5 separate regions of the Homo sapiens genome follow, and regions 1, 3, 4 and 5 are each linked to region 2. Evidence: promoter capture Hi-C in 16 types of primary human blood cells and fetal thymus (Javierre and others, 2016). All regions are on one chromosome and are shown on one strand. Each heading gives the region's core, a stretch centred on a gene start or on the middle of the fragment in contact. The rest is flanking DNA. Distances are from core to core; before and after follow the strand shown. Region 1 holds the start of NPM2 (nucleophosmin/nucleoplasmin 2). Region 2 has its middle 130 kb from the start of LZTS1. Region 3 holds the start of BMP1 (bone morphogenetic protein 1). Region 4 holds the start of REEP4 (receptor accessory protein 4). Region 5 holds the start of DMTN (dematin actin binding protein).

The links. Contacts are between HindIII fragments. The CHiCAGO score rates a contact against its expected background, and 5 or more counts as called.
Region 1: a contact is called between the fragment with the promoter of NPM2 here and a fragment that was not itself captured in region 2, in 4 of 17 cell types (naive CD4 T cells, total CD4 T cells, naive CD8 T cells and 1 more). The highest score is 15.7, in naive CD4 T cells.
Region 3: the fragment with the promoter of BMP1 here is called in contact with a fragment that was not itself captured in region 2 in 7 of 17 cell types (naive B cells, naive CD4 T cells, total CD4 T cells and 4 more); the score reaches 11.4 in naive B cells.
Region 4: the fragment with the promoter of REEP4 here is called in contact with a fragment that was not itself captured in region 2 in 9 of 17 cell types (naive CD4 T cells, total CD8 T cells, total CD4 T cells and 6 more); the score reaches 23.8 in naive CD4 T cells.
Region 5: a contact is called between the fragment with the promoter of DMTN here and a fragment that was not itself captured in region 2, in 2 of 17 cell types (naive CD8 T cells and non-activated CD4 T cells). The highest score is 5.4, in naive CD8 T cells.

The regions. Positions count from the first base shown.
Region 1 is chr8:22,022,884-22,025,583 of GRCh38, reverse strand. NPM2 (nucleophosmin/nucleoplasmin 2) reads right to left here and starts at 1,450. Exons shown (of 10, transcript NM_001286680.2): 1 at 961-1,450; 2 at 754-860; 3 at 278-368; 4 at 63-148. The coding sequence starts at 335. RefSeq lists enhancers at 936-1,648, 1,649-2,362. The HindIII fragment of the contact is 16,503 bases long and covers 1-2,700 here.
Region 2 is chr8:20,435,341-20,438,040 of GRCh38, reverse strand. No RefSeq gene overlaps it. Among named protein-coding and RNA genes, the nearest start is that of LZTS1, 130 kb to the right of the region's middle. The HindIII fragment of the contact is 2,730 bases long and covers 1-2,700 here.
Region 3 is chr8:22,164,122-22,166,821 of GRCh38, reverse strand. It overlaps BMP1 (bone morphogenetic protein 1), which reads right to left and starts at 1,450. Exons shown (of 20, transcript NM_006129.5): 1 at 1,269-1,450. The coding sequence starts at 1,416. SFTPC (surfactant protein C) reads right to left here. Exons shown (of 6, transcript NM_001317778.2): 6 at 2,343-2,556. RefSeq lists a silencer at 1,155-2,194. The HindIII fragment of the contact is 3,783 bases long and covers 671-2,700 here.
Region 4 is chr8:22,140,463-22,143,162 of GRCh38, reverse strand. REEP4 (receptor accessory protein 4) reads left to right here and starts at 1,256. Exons shown (of 8, transcript NM_025232.4): 1 at 1,256-1,712; 2 at 2,466-2,538. The coding sequence starts at 1,681. RefSeq lists silencers at 1,213-1,342, 1,353-1,502 and an enhancer at 2,267-2,700. The HindIII fragment of the contact is 1,867 bases long and covers 873-2,700 here.
Region 5 is chr8:22,055,523-22,058,222 of GRCh38, reverse strand. It overlaps DMTN (dematin actin binding protein), which reads right to left and starts at 1,409. Exons shown (of 16, transcript NM_001387751.1): 1 at 1,087-1,409. RefSeq lists an enhancer at 1-291. The HindIII fragment of the contact is 49,236 bases long and covers 1-2,700 here.

The DNA of each region.
Region 1 (2,700 bases), core at 201-2,700, 1.6 Mb before region 2:
CCTCCGTTGGGACCAGAAAGTTCCCGGACACCATCTTCCTCCCCTCTTTTGGGAACACCTACCGTATGAAGCAACAGCCTGCAGCTCTGCTTCCCCTCCAGCTGGGGTCTGAAGGTCCAAGTCCGCCTCTCCTGACTGAGCTCGCAGCCTGCGGAGGAGAAAGGGAGGGAAGTGGGGCCCTCCATTCGTTCCCAAAGGAGGGGCTCACCTGCGCCCCAAGCTGCCGCGCACCGGAGGTGGGGCGTGTCTCTGGGAAGGAGCCTGAGTCCCCACTCACCCCAGAGCACGGTCGTCACTGCCTTTTCCTCCGTGCTACTGGCGCTACTGAGATTCATGGCTCCGGGCAGAGAAGCGGGCTGGCCGGGCAGCTGCAAGGAGGGCGCCCGCGTGAGGCCTTGCTCCCTGACCCTGACCCTCGACTGGAGGATGCCAGAGACCAGCAGGCATCGGCAGGTACTGAGGGGTCGCTCGCGGCTGGAGGGGACCTGCCACGGTCAAGGGCTCACCGGCAACTCCTGGAGGACGAGTACCCACCTCCTAGCGGGGTGCGCAGCCCGGGGCTCGACCGGGCGCGTACAGGACAGCGGGACTCACGGGAGAGGGAGCTGTCCACCGAGCTCAGGCTTGAAAGGCCGCGGGGAGGTCACCTGGCTGCGCTTGGGCCTGACTCAAAAGCCTCTGTGCACCTCCACCAGACGCAGAGAAAGGGGTGTGCGCGCGGCTTAGGTCCCAGCTCCCCCCACACAGCCTTACTGTCGCTGCTCCGCGCGGGGCCAGTCACGCCATCGGCGCTCCCGGAGCGCAGCGCAACCTCATCCCCTCTGGCCGGAAGGCGGCTGTCCAAGCCCGGGCTAAGAAGCCTGGGAAGGGGAAGGGCAGGTGTCCAATTAGTCGCAAAGAAGCCGCCTCCCTCTCCCCTTCCCTTCTCCCATTCTTTCCTCCTCTGCGCGGCAGAATCACCTGGAGGGCTGTTAAGGGGCGCATTGCCGCGCCCCACTCCACAGCTGCCCTTGGCGTCGGTCTGGGTGGGGCCGAGGGAATTTGTAGTTCTAACCAGTTCCCAGGTGAGGCTGATGATGCCGGCCCAGGACCTTTCGTGAGAAGCTGTCCCGGCCAATTGCGGACCCGCCGAGGCCTCCTGGCGCCCCCTCCCCAGCCCATGGAGAGGAAGCCTCAGCTCAGCTTAGGAAGGGAGGCCTGCAGCCGGCAGGAAGCTGCAGTTGGAAGCCCTCCTTCTTGTTCGTTGCCTTTCTTCCTTTCCTTTCCCCATGCCTTATACAGCATGGGCCTTTCCTAAGGCCCAGACAGCCCGTTCTTCCAGCCTACCGTGAGAGCGAGCGAGCCCTGTCTCCAGAACGGTGAGATCTCCCGCGGAGAGCCGCAGCGGGCAGGTGGGGTGGGGAGGTGAGCCGGGAGGCGAGGCGCCGCGGCAGGGGGCGGGGAGCACACTGAGGAGCACGGCTAGCGACGCTACAGGGCCAAGCACGTGACCAGCAGCTGGTCCCAGGCTCAGTGGGCAGTGAAGAGGAAGTGGGGTTTCAGCGGATATACCCTGGAGACACCTCAGATAACCAGGGATCTCCCGCACACCCCTGGGACAGGGGCTCATTGCCACGGAGAGGTCAGAATCTTTTATTCCTGGAAGCTGGGGTCAGCCTCCCTGTGAATTGGCCAGGACAACCCAGGAGAGGCTTGGGGGCCTGCCAGGGCCCCCTAGGCTCCCTATCCCCAGCTGAGCAGTTCCAGTCTCCTTGGCTGTCCCTGAGCTCTCTGTCCCTGGCAAGGCGCCTATTGAAGGTGACAGCCATTGCAGCCAAGTGTGTGGTAAAGATGAGCAAATGGCAGGCACATGCATGCCATGCACAGACGTTCAAGAATTCACTCAACAAACGGTGATTCCGCCAATTGGGCGGGACCTGGGCATCCCGCGGTGAATACGACAGCCCCTCAAAGGGCTTCCAGCCTCATTGGAGAGCAGTGCTCAAAGCAAACCGGCCTTCAGTGGCCCCAGGCTACCCACCCCGTGAATAATCACACTGATGTCAGGCTGCAGCTGGGGGTCACAGTGAAGGCTAAATGGAGGCAGGGGAGGGGGATGACCCTGAGGTCATGACCTAGAGCTGGGACACTGGAACTGGACAGTCTGGGTTCAAGTCTGGACTGTGCTCTGTGATTTCAGGTGTGTTAATTCATAGCTCAGTGCCTCAGTTTCCTCATCTGCTAAATGAGGCTATAATATTGGTACCATCGTCATTAACTTTTTAAACTGATACATATTAATTGTACATATTTATGGGGTACATATGATATTTTTATACTTGCACACAATGTGTAATGAGCAAATCAGGGTAACTGGGGTACCTTCAACATTATTTCTTTTCTTTTTTTTTTTTTTTTGGAGATGGCGTTTCACTCTCATCACCCAGGCTGGAGTGCGGTGGTGCCATCTCAGCTCACTATAACCTCTGCCTCCCATGTTCAAGCGATTCTCCTGCCTCAGCCTCCCAAGTAGCTGGGTTTATAGGTGCTTACCACCATGCCCAGCTAATTTTCATATTTTTACTAGAGATGGGGTTTCACCATGTTGGCCAGGTTGGTCTCGAACTCCTGACCTCAGTGATCCTCCTGCCTAGGCCTCCCAAAGTGCTGGGATTACAGGCATGAGCCACTGGGCCCGGCTAAACATTTATCATTTCTTTG
Region 2 (2,700 bases), core at 112-2,611:
TTCTGCACAGCTCCAGCACCCATAGGCTTCAAGGAAAAGCAGCTATGGTGGCACATTCAAGGACTCTGTGCTGTTCATGCCCAGCTCCTTGCCCTATCTGTGATCTACGTCCATGACATGACCTCTGTCACAAACTCCTGAAGTCCCATCAGTCCAGAGAAGACAGAACTACTCTTTCTTTCAGACTCCCACAGCATTTTTATGCACCCCTATTACCATAAACAGCACATGATACTGTAACTGCTGGTTTCATTGTCTCTGTCCCCACTGGGGTCAGGAATCATGTCTTCCTCATCACCTGTGCTAAGTAGGTGTTCAGTGACTGTTCACTGACTGATAACTGACTCATTCTTTTGCCAGATACCTGAGTGTTCCTGACCCCTGGCTCTTATTCCACAAAGGATCCTATCTCTCTGACAACCTGATTTCCAGAGACACCAAAGATCAGGCTACTCTTGAGCCTGGCCCTGGCCCTAAAAGCCTGGCTTTTAGGAAGCATGAGGGTTCCGACATGCATGTTTTACTGTGCTCCTGCACCCTGGGGATGTTTCTCCTTGTCCTACCTGGCTTCACCACCTCCACATTTGAGCACTGGTATGGTGGCTTGGACTGGCCTAGTGTCCCCCACCCTGCTCACATAGCCTGGGCCCAGTTTGCAGGGCCTCACAGGACAGGCACAGGGCTTGGTGTGAGATGGCAGGAGCTCATCTTCAGGTCCCCAGTATAGGAATAGTGTCATCTCTTGCAACTCACCTACCAATGCCACTCCTCAGTTTGCTCAACTGTAAATGGATGAAATGATACCAACCTGAGAGTTGTTCCAAGACCAGCAATGGAAGCAAACGTAAGAGCCCTTGAAAAGAGAAAGCTGTTTCATAAAAACAGTGTGTGGTTCAGACAGCCCCGCCTGCCACCACGGCAGAAAGCCAGAAAGCACCCGGATGTGTCACCCACACCACTGTTTGGCTAAGACTGACTCTACATGCTCTCTCCACCCCAGAGGACACCTCCGTCCAGGCAGGGGGATTGCTGGCAGGGTGCCGTCTACACTGACATCCTCAGACTGCAGAGATTCCCACAAGTGGGCTGGTCTGGGAGGAGAGGAAGATGTAGGTGTTTCTTAGGTATTGTCAAATAAGAGGATCAGCAGAATAGGAAGTGGCAGAGAGCAGAGACTGTCTGTGTTATTTCAAGATTGTGATCACATCTCACACGCTCTGCTGAGCCAGTGAACAAAACAGCCCTTGGAAAACTGGTGCTTGGCGTGGGCGGCGCTTGCCAACCCGCCGGCAACCCTGGCTCTGCTCCATTCACTCACCAGGAAAGCTGACCTCCCCTGAGGACATCCATTGCTGGCCTCCATGTCCTTGGGGATCCTAACACCCATCCATTCAATTCAACGTCTAGTGAACCTTTACCAAGGCCAAGCATGATGCTGATCCCTGCGAGAGCCCTAGGAAAGAAGCACCCACCATCCTTGCCCTCAATCACCTCCCAGTCATGAGCCATAGTTGAGAGTTATCTCAACTAACACTTCCAGCCAGTCACTATCCTGCTCAAGAACTTGCAATAGCTCCCTACTACGTTGGTATCAAGAATCAACTCCTCAGCCTGACTTTTAAGCACCCACACTCAACCTAGGCCCACTTTCTCTTGCTGACTGTAACATGAACCCTCAATCGCTACAGGTAAAATATCCTAATTGTGCCAGGACCTTCCTGTCTTGTCTGTCACCCTGTAGCTTATTATTATCTAAACCCTCAAGACTTACCTCAAATTCTATTAGCCTAATGCTATCTCTCTCTTTTTTTTTTTTTTTTTTTTTTTCTGAAGTCCAATTCCACTGATAGTAAGCCATGGTCTTGCACTAAATTATTCTCCAAATCTCTCTCTCTCTCATAAGGTTCTGAAGTGCAGAGATGATTCAATTAAACACAATTCAACAAATATTGACTGAACTCCCACCATCTTCCCCTGCCTGTATTTGTGGATGGGTTGACTGACAGGCTGATCCAGCCTCCAGGCTATTCTGGGCAGAGGGACAGCTTTCATGATAGGAAATTTAAACTGCAACCTCATGCAAACCTCCGCACTATGCCCTGCCTCATTGACCCCAGGACACCCCTGAAATCAAATGAAACCACAGCCCCTCCTCAGTGCCACCTTGAGAAACAGGAAACCATTTGTTCTCCCTGTATGAATACCTAGCATCCCAAAGGTCACACCTGAGCACAGCAGGAACCAGGTGTGGTAACGCCCAGACCAGTGCTCCACCCTCACCTGGCCAGGACTTCACAGAGTAGCTGGGGCCCCAGTGGCCGGTCCCTACTGGAGAGCAGGCTGAGCCCTGCGTGGGGGCAGCACAGCATCCTGCACTCACCACACCTCTTTCCTCACGTGCGGCTTCAGACCAACCCCATTTCTCAAACGCCTCCCTCCCCTGCCTACCTATGCGTTTGTTTCCTGCCTCTTCTTTCGCCACCCTCCCCCCATCACCAGGCCTTCCGTGGCAAGAGATGCTGGGAGAGGCTGCCGGCGGGGTTGCGGGCTGCTTGCTTTGCGCACGTTTGGCTATTGCCATCTAGTGGCCATAAGGCATAAACCCGTCCCCACTCCAGGCCTTGCAAATGCCCCTTTCCCCTTTTTAAAAAGTGTGGGAGAAAAAAAGCTCTCTTTTTCAACCCCAAAAGGTCCTAAAAA
Region 3 (2,700 bases), core at 201-2,700, 1.7 Mb before region 2:
ATGTCCTGGTTTACCCGCAGCCCAGCAGGTGTAGAGGGGTAAGGGCTGAGGGATTTGCCCTGATTTCCTCCATTGGATGGTCTCTTATTCCTGCCTGTGGGCCACCCTCCCAGGAGAGTCCCTGAACAGGGTCTCCAGAGCCAGGACTAGAGCAACCTGCCCCTCCGCCCCTGGTGCCCCACACAGGCAGTCCAGTTCTAGCAACTATGCCACTTCCCCTGGCTCTGGCTATTTGGAGATGAGCTGAAGTCAGAGAGGCAGGAAGTCAAGGAAAAGTTCTGATATCTTGTCCCTGTGTGTCCCCAAACAGCCTGCCCAGGGTCATCCAATCAGGCAAATGGCCCGAGTGCCTGGCCATCTGGTCACTCCAGGGGCAGGACCCTTCTGGGCTCAGCAGGAGTGATGGGGTTACATAGAGTCTTCAGAGACAAAGAACACACACACATACAGGCAAACACACACTCCGGGGTCCTGACCTCAGCTAATTAGCCTCTGGTGTCTCGGGGGTGACAGAGCTGATATACAATATCTGGGTTCTCTTTGTATTTTCCCTCTTTCCACCCCAACTTGGCCTTGGCGGGGGTCTCTGGGCACATAGGGACAAAGTTAAGTCCCCCTTCTGGGTTGGCTTCTCTGACTTTGACAGCTGTCTCCTAAGTCCCAGAAAGCTTCAGCTACTGGTTAAACTACGGGATACCCAGAGAGCACGATCTCAGGGAATCCCTGGAAAAACTTTCTTCTTCCACTTGGGCTGGGTGGTGGCTGGGGGACCTGCTCCTTGGAGACTCAGGCCTCCCAGATCCAAGCCAGACAGATGTGCAGCCCCAGGGCAGCCCAGACAGGCTGGAAAACACCCAGCTCCTGGAGCAGGAGAGATGGGGGAGAAGGGGAAAGAACACACACACACACACACACACACACACACACACACACACACACGCACGCACAGGAGTTTGGCCAGAAAAGTTTCCTACAGAAGGAAAAGCCGCCTTGCCCGCCGGTTTTCCCGGGACGCAAGGAGACTTCCTCTGGAATCCTCTGGGAAGATGAGAGGCAGCGGCAGCAGCTTCCACCAACAGCGGCAAAACTTCAGTCCGAAAAGTCCCCCAAATCCCCCTCCCTCTCCCCCTCGTTCTTTTGTTCCCCACTGCATTGCCAACCAGGCAGCTCCCGGCTTCCCACACTGGACTGTCCTCCCCCAACCCCAAGCCCGAACCCGCCCGCGCCTCCCCGCCTGGCCCGTCGCCGGGGGGCCGGGGGGCGCTCACCCGCCTTGCAGGGGTCTTTGTAGTTGAGGGGCTCCGAGTCGTCCTCCTCCGCCAGGTCATAGGTGTAGTCGGCCAAGTCCAGCGGCCGGCCGGGACGCGGGAGCAGCAGCAGCCCGAGCAGCAGCGGCAGGCGGGCCACGCCGGGCATGCTGGCGGGGCGGCGGCGAGGGAAGCGGCGCACTGGAGGCCAGGGGAGGGCGTCCTCTCGCCCGCTTGCTTGCTCGATCGCGACCGCGACCGCTCCCGCCCTCGCTCCCCGACCTCTTCCCCTTCCCTCTGCTCGCCTCCCTCCTTCCTGTCTCCCGCCCCCCGCTCGGTCCGCGGCTCCGCGCTCGTCCTCGGGCTCCAGCCGTCTCCCTCTCCCTTTCCTTCTTTTTCTCTCTTTCTTTCTCTCCCTCCCTCCCTCCCTCCGACTCCCCCCCCCCTTTTTAGGGAAATGAGCTCGCTGGAGGGCGGGTTTTCGCCCGAGCTCTGCCCCCCTCGGGGCCGGGACAGTGCTCGGCCGGGCCGGGCCGCGCGCCAGCCGGGGCGGGGAAGGCGGAGAGCCGCGCGCCCGGGGAGGGGGCTCGGGCCGCCCGGGCCGCGGGCCGCGGGCCGCGAGGCCGGGGCTGGAGCTCGGGCCCCGGGGTGCCGGGAGGGCTGTCCCTCCTGAAGTGCCCTCTAGCGGCGGCCTCCCCCGCGGGCGCGCGGCCGAGCCCCCGCCCCGCCGCGGGACACGCTGTCAGGTCCTCGCGCCGCCCCTGCCCCGCGCCCCCGCCTCGGGTCGGTCTCTCCGCCCGCGTCTCCCTATCTCCCCTTCTTGGACCCTCGCTCTCTCGCGTCTCGCTCTCTGCGCTCTGTCTCTCTCGCTGTCTTGGTGTCTCTCCCTCCTCCGGAGACGCCGCTGGAGGGCGCCGAAAGCCCGTGGATGGCTCCCTGCGAGCCCCTCTCCCCCGCCGAGGTGGACCCAGTGCCCCAGCGCCCTGGGACAGAGGGCGAATGGCAAACCCCACTTTGCTCTCCCAAGGCCCTTCCCTTCTTGGCCGGCCCCCGCCAGGGCAGGACTGCGCCCTGCAGGAAGACAGAAGCAGACCCTTTGCTTTTCAATCAGGCTGCTTTATTCTGTTGTGGCAGGAGTTCCCGGGCCCCTGGGCGCCACCTCTGCCCACTCCCATCCTCTCCCCAAGCTCCCATTTCTCCAGGGCTTGTCCCTGCGGTGTGGGCAGAAGCAGCTTCTTGCCCGTCTGCAAAAGCTGCAAAAGACCCTTTGCCCGGGGCGTTTCCTTTCCCGTTGGGGCTTCCACTGACCCTGTGAAGCAAAGGAATGTTGAGGATGGACAGAGAGAATCAGGGGAGTGGGAAGTACCGGTCTGTGAGCTTCCCCTCCCCCGAGTTGCCTGGATGACCCCGCTTCAGTGGACGCCCCAGCGCCTGGTCAGCGCGAGCGCTCCTC
Region 4 (2,700 bases), core at 7-2,506, 1.7 Mb before region 2:
GACAGTAATTAAGACCATATAATCACCGTGTGTTTATTTATCCCCCAGAAGCCTCCTTTCCCTGGCCCCATGATTACCTATTCCATCCTTATGATAGCTGGTGGGGGTTAACTGTGGCTCCAATAAAAAGCAGTAACTGCCTGTGTTTCCACCCCACATGCCCGGACAGCTTTGCTCCCACCCTCTGCAAGGTGGGGGGACACTATTTTCAGAGGGAACAACAGAGGCAGTAAGCTGAAGATGTCAAAAAGAATGAAACCTCACAGGGCAAGTAGTAGAAGCAGCAACGTTTGCCTTCTTTTTTAGAGCCTTCCCCCTTCTTCCTGGCATCTGCCTCCCTCCCAGAGGAACTTATCCGGTTCCATGGCCCTCTGCAGGGCCACTCAGCCTGCAGCTGCTGATCTCTCAGAAGACTGATCAAGCCAAGCATGTAGCCACCAGCCAGCAATAAATACCACTGGGTGATACCAGGAAAGTTACTTTTCACCACTGAGCATCCTATTTCCTACATGGTTAAAAGAAGTTTGCAAAGACTAAGACCTTGCGTGCAAACGTGCATTACAAAATGGCAATGGTTGATACTACTATTAAGGGCCCAGGGTTATTTGTGTACTTGGCTCAGAGGAATAGGTGGAATTTCAAACTTCTGCTGAAGGAGTGTGGGAGCTGAGAGCTCTACCCAGAATGCCTCAAATCATCGCGGTCAGCCTGCCCCGGAGTCAGGGATCTGGAAAGGCATCCCAGAGAGAAGGGAACCCCTGAAACCTGGTGGGGCAAAAAGTCCCTCAGGTTCCCTCTCCCCCCACACCTCCCCCCTTTCCCTCCTGGACCCACTGGTGTGAGACCCGGACTTGCTGGCGCTCAGCCAAGCTTCCTTCCAGCTCCTGACTGAGCCTGCAGAGGAGATCCTTCCCTCTACCCCACCAACCGCATCTCATGCCTTTACCCGGTTCACAGAGGGGAAAATGAGGCGAGAGGGAAAGACACCGGGAAAAGCCAGTGAAGGGTCGCTTAAACTCTGGAGTCCAGATTTTCTTTGTGTGCCGACCCCCGCACTCCCCCTGCTTTTTTGTTACAGCTTCCCACACGCTAATCTTTCCGATTGGGAAGGTGGCTCCACTGTGGGCCCCACGCGCGAGTCCCGCGGCACATCGCCCCTTTAAGGGGCCGGCCTCTCGCCTCCCTGACCTCGCCCCGCCCCCTCCGGGGCTACACTGCGCCTGCGTGGCAAGCCGGAGCCCTGGGGTTGGGCAGCACTCGGTTCCGTGCAACTTTCAAGTGAGTTGCGAACTCCGCCCTGTAGGCCGGTGCTGGTGGCCCGGCGCGCTGGAACCGCGGCGACCCGCTCCAGCGCGGGACCAGCAGCAAGGGCCGAGCGCCAGGTTCTCCGCGGCAGAAAGGGCGGGTGGGAGCTGTAACTGCCCCGGCCGCGGGGCGCGCCCGCTCCCAAGTCGGCTTCCTCCCCGCCGGGGCCGCTTTGCCTCGGGTCTCCCCATTCTCCAGGTCCCCTGAACTGCACAGTCGGAGGCCGTGGGCGGCGGGCTCTGCCTCCGCCGAGGGACAGCCGGATCGCCCCTCTGCTTCCCGCAACTGCCCTGATCACCCCCCGTCCCAGCCCTTGAGTGAACGTCCTTCTGAGCGGCTTCCTGGGGTCCTCCCCACGTCCCAAAGGCCGGCAAGATGGTGTCCTGGATGATCTGTCGCCTGGTGGTGTGAGTATGGCCGCCCTCAGACCTCCTCTACCCCGGGGTGCCGTCCCGCCCCTGTGGTGGAAGCTGTGGACGTCTAGTGGGAGGAGGAACTTTCTGAGCTCCACCCTCCAGCACTCCATGCAAGGGTTAACGGACCTGTGGGCTTGCACGCGGTGTCTGGGGCACCGCAGGCTACCCGCCCCACCAAGCCTCGTTGGCTGAGAACGACCCCTGCCGCACGCCACACACACTGCAAACAGATGCGTGGAGCCGAGGGCCACAGGCCTACCTTGCTGCCCCTTGGCAAACACAAGGTGATATGGCACGTTGTGGGCGGAGAATCCAGGTGCCTGCTTGCCATCTGAGCAGTCACATGACTCACCATCCTATTCCTCACCTTTGAGTATGCCAACATCTGGCTCACATAGCCCTATCTGCAACCCAGCAGTGTCAGGTCTGGTGACCCTGGGCCTGATTGCATGCCCATGGGAGGGGACAGTCTGGTGTTCTCACCCACTTCGTGGAGTGGCTGTCCTCTCACTCCATCATGCACCCATGGGCCACCGGTGCAGGCCTGGGCAGGCTTGGGATGTTTGTAAACAGCAGGGTGGGGAGGTGGCCTCCAGGGCTCTGACTCAGGCACGGGTTGTACAAGCCAAGCGAGAAAAACAGGGCGGGTACTGCCACCTTGCACCCCAGTGGGGGGAAATGGCCACTTGGCAAGGTGGGAGTGGGGCATGGTGCCCCTCACACTCCCCATGGCTGCTCTTCCAGGCTGGTGTTTGGGATGCTGTGTCCAGCTTATGCTTCCTATAAGGCTGTGAAGACCAAGAACATTCGTGAATATGTGAGCGTGGGGGTTTGGGTGTGTTTAATAGGACTTGGTGAGGTGGGGAGGGTCTCAGTTGGCCTCTCCCTCCTCCAGGGGCAAGGCTGTGTGGCACATCCTGAGTGGAGTGGGGAGGGAGAGAGAATGGGCCCTGTTCAAGAGGGTGTAGATAGAGGGCAG
Region 5 (2,700 bases), core at 160-2,659, 1.6 Mb before region 2:
GCCGGCAGCACGGACACAAGATGGACAGGTGGGCACAGGCAGAAGCGCCCGCGCTGAAACCGTTGCAGGACGCATGCACGCGGGGAGACTCCGAAGCCCTGTGTGCCAGCTCATGCCCCCACTCTCCCATCGAGGCCCCCTCACTGTGACACATGGTGCTGCCAACACCCGCTCACACCCACCCACCGGTCCTCTCCCTGGCATCCATCCCAGAGTAGTGCACGTGTACAGCAACATACACAGAGCCCTCCACTTACCCAGCTCTGGAGGCCTTCCCTGGGCTCCCCATTCCCACAGCCCAACTGCCTTCCTTGTCTTGGACCTGTCCCTGCTCCCCTGACTCTCACAACCAGGCAACTGGTCCCTGGAAGGGACACACTGGGTGTGTCTGCCCAAGAAAGGGGGCTGGACCTGCTAGGCCCTGAGGGACAGAGCTAGGGAGGGGGAGCCCCAGAACCCTGTGGGGGCTGCATGTCTGCTCAGCCCTGGCCCCTTCAAGCACCCCAGCGGCGGGCACAGGGGGAGTACTGGGCTTGGGCTTGCAGCTGCGCCCTGCCACAGCCTCACTCTTCACTCAGCCCCACCCCAGCCTGGCCAGCCACTGGCTGGGGGCAGGCTCTCCTCCCACTCCCCCTAAAAAGCAGGCTCCAAACAAACAGCCTCAGGCCCCTAAATGTACTGCTCCAACCCCCAGAGCATGTGGAGTGGTTTTGGGGAGGCCAGCGGGCCAGTATTCAGCAGAGAGGGAATGCTCCCCTGCCCACCCCGTGCCCCCACAGTCCATCCCTTCCATTGCTGGCCTGCTCAGCTAGGTAGGCCAGGCAGAGATGCTGGCAAAGAGGGGATTGGGCTGGGAGCAGTTCTCATCCTTGGGATGAGAACACCCCAGGCCCTCTTCCCCAGATCAGAAGGTTCCATTAGATCAGGCCCAGCTGGTCCCAGGGGCCGGCCCATCCTCCCACTGAACAGGGCCCACAGTGGGCTCCCCCCAGATACCCTGCTGCCACCCAAAGCCTGGCTCGCCAGCAAGCGCTGTGGCCCAGAGTGCCCACAGAGGGGAGGAGAGGCGGAGACCCTGCCACCTACCTCTTCCCAGACAGTGTGGCCCAGACGCTCTGAGGCCACAGAGGCCCGAGAGGCGTAGGCCAGATCCACGGGCTGTCACTTCCCCCAGGAGCCTAGGTAATAGGTGTCTCTTCCAGGAACCCCGCGGCGCTTCCCCGGAGCACAAATAACAGGAAAAATGCCGGCTTAGGGTGGGTGGGCGGGGTGGGAGCTGGCGAAGGAGGGGAGCTGGTCTCGGCTGAGCGGTCTGATCTCCCCTCTGGGCCCCCACCCTCCTTGCCCCCACCCTGCTTCTCTGCAACGCACGGCCGCCTGGATCCCCCGGTGCTGGGGAGTCCTCGTCTGGGGGCGGGAGGGCGGGCGGGCTGCTGGCTCCCCCACGCCCTCCCCGCGCCCTCCCCACTTCCAGCTGATAGCGTGTGGCTGGCAAGGGTGTGTGTGTGGATGTGCGCGCTCTTCCACCAGCGCTGCAGCTCAATCCATTTCAAACAAGAGGAGCATTAACCCAGCGTCATGACAAAGCAGAATCAGCCAGCACTGTCCTCTCCCTTTCCCACACCGCAGTCTGCAGCACTCACACGCACACACACACCCACACGCACCCAGAGCCCCTCAGCCTCCTCCTAAACAGCCAGAGTTCAAGTTGCTGTGGGCGGTGGGTCGAGGGAGGGGGCTACTGATGACCCAGGCGGACAATGCCTGCTTTCTCCAGGCACCTGCACCTCCTACCCTATTCATGACCACCCCACCATCTGACAGCAGCAACTGAGGCCTCTGGGGCCCAGCCTCTTGAGGTGGGGGTGCAGGCACAGGCCAGAATTGGTTACCCAAGGATGAGCTCTCTCCTGGGAGGGTAGAATGGAGGGATGCAACCAGGTCCTCAGTACTGAGACTTGAGCTGGCCCCTCAGTAACCTGAATCCCCTGGGAACTCCAATGGGATGCAGCAGAGAGAGAGAAGGACCCCATCTCTCCCTAGGGTGGCTTCATGAAAAAGGAGCTTCCTGCCTGGTAACCCCTGGGTCCCAGCACAGAATTTACAGGCATGTGCCTTCCCTGTCTCTAGCAAAGCCTCAACCACCCCAGGAGCCTCTCATTGGCCTTTCGGGCCCCCTGGGCAGGATGGGGAAGGACAACAAGCCTTGCCCTCGACCCTCGCCCTGGCCCCAATGTCCTCTCCACCTCCACACCGCAGACTTGCCTACCTAGGCAGCCCTCACCGTTGCCCTGGCAACCCTGCCCCCAGCCGGTCAGCTGATGGTATCAGCTGTTGTTGGGGAAATCTAGAATCTGGGGAGGGGGCTCTGGGGTGTCTGAATGGAGAAGCACAGGGGGAGGGGCTTGAGGGAAGAGGCCAGGAGGGGACAGAAAGTATCTGGCTGGTGGGGACAGAGAGGACAGTAACCTGAGGGATGGGCTCCAGAGAGAAGGGAGGAAGGAAGGAGGCAGGTGGCTGAGAAGGGAGACAGAACACAGGCTGAGCTGCTGCAGCCAGGCGGGGGTGGCTGTGAAGGTAGAGAAAACCTGGGGGTGGGGGATGAAGCATCAGATCCATGGAACTGCAGAGAAAAAGGCCAGGAGAGTGATGTGGGAGGGGGCATACCTTCAATGTGGCAGAAAGGGGCACAGCCTTGGA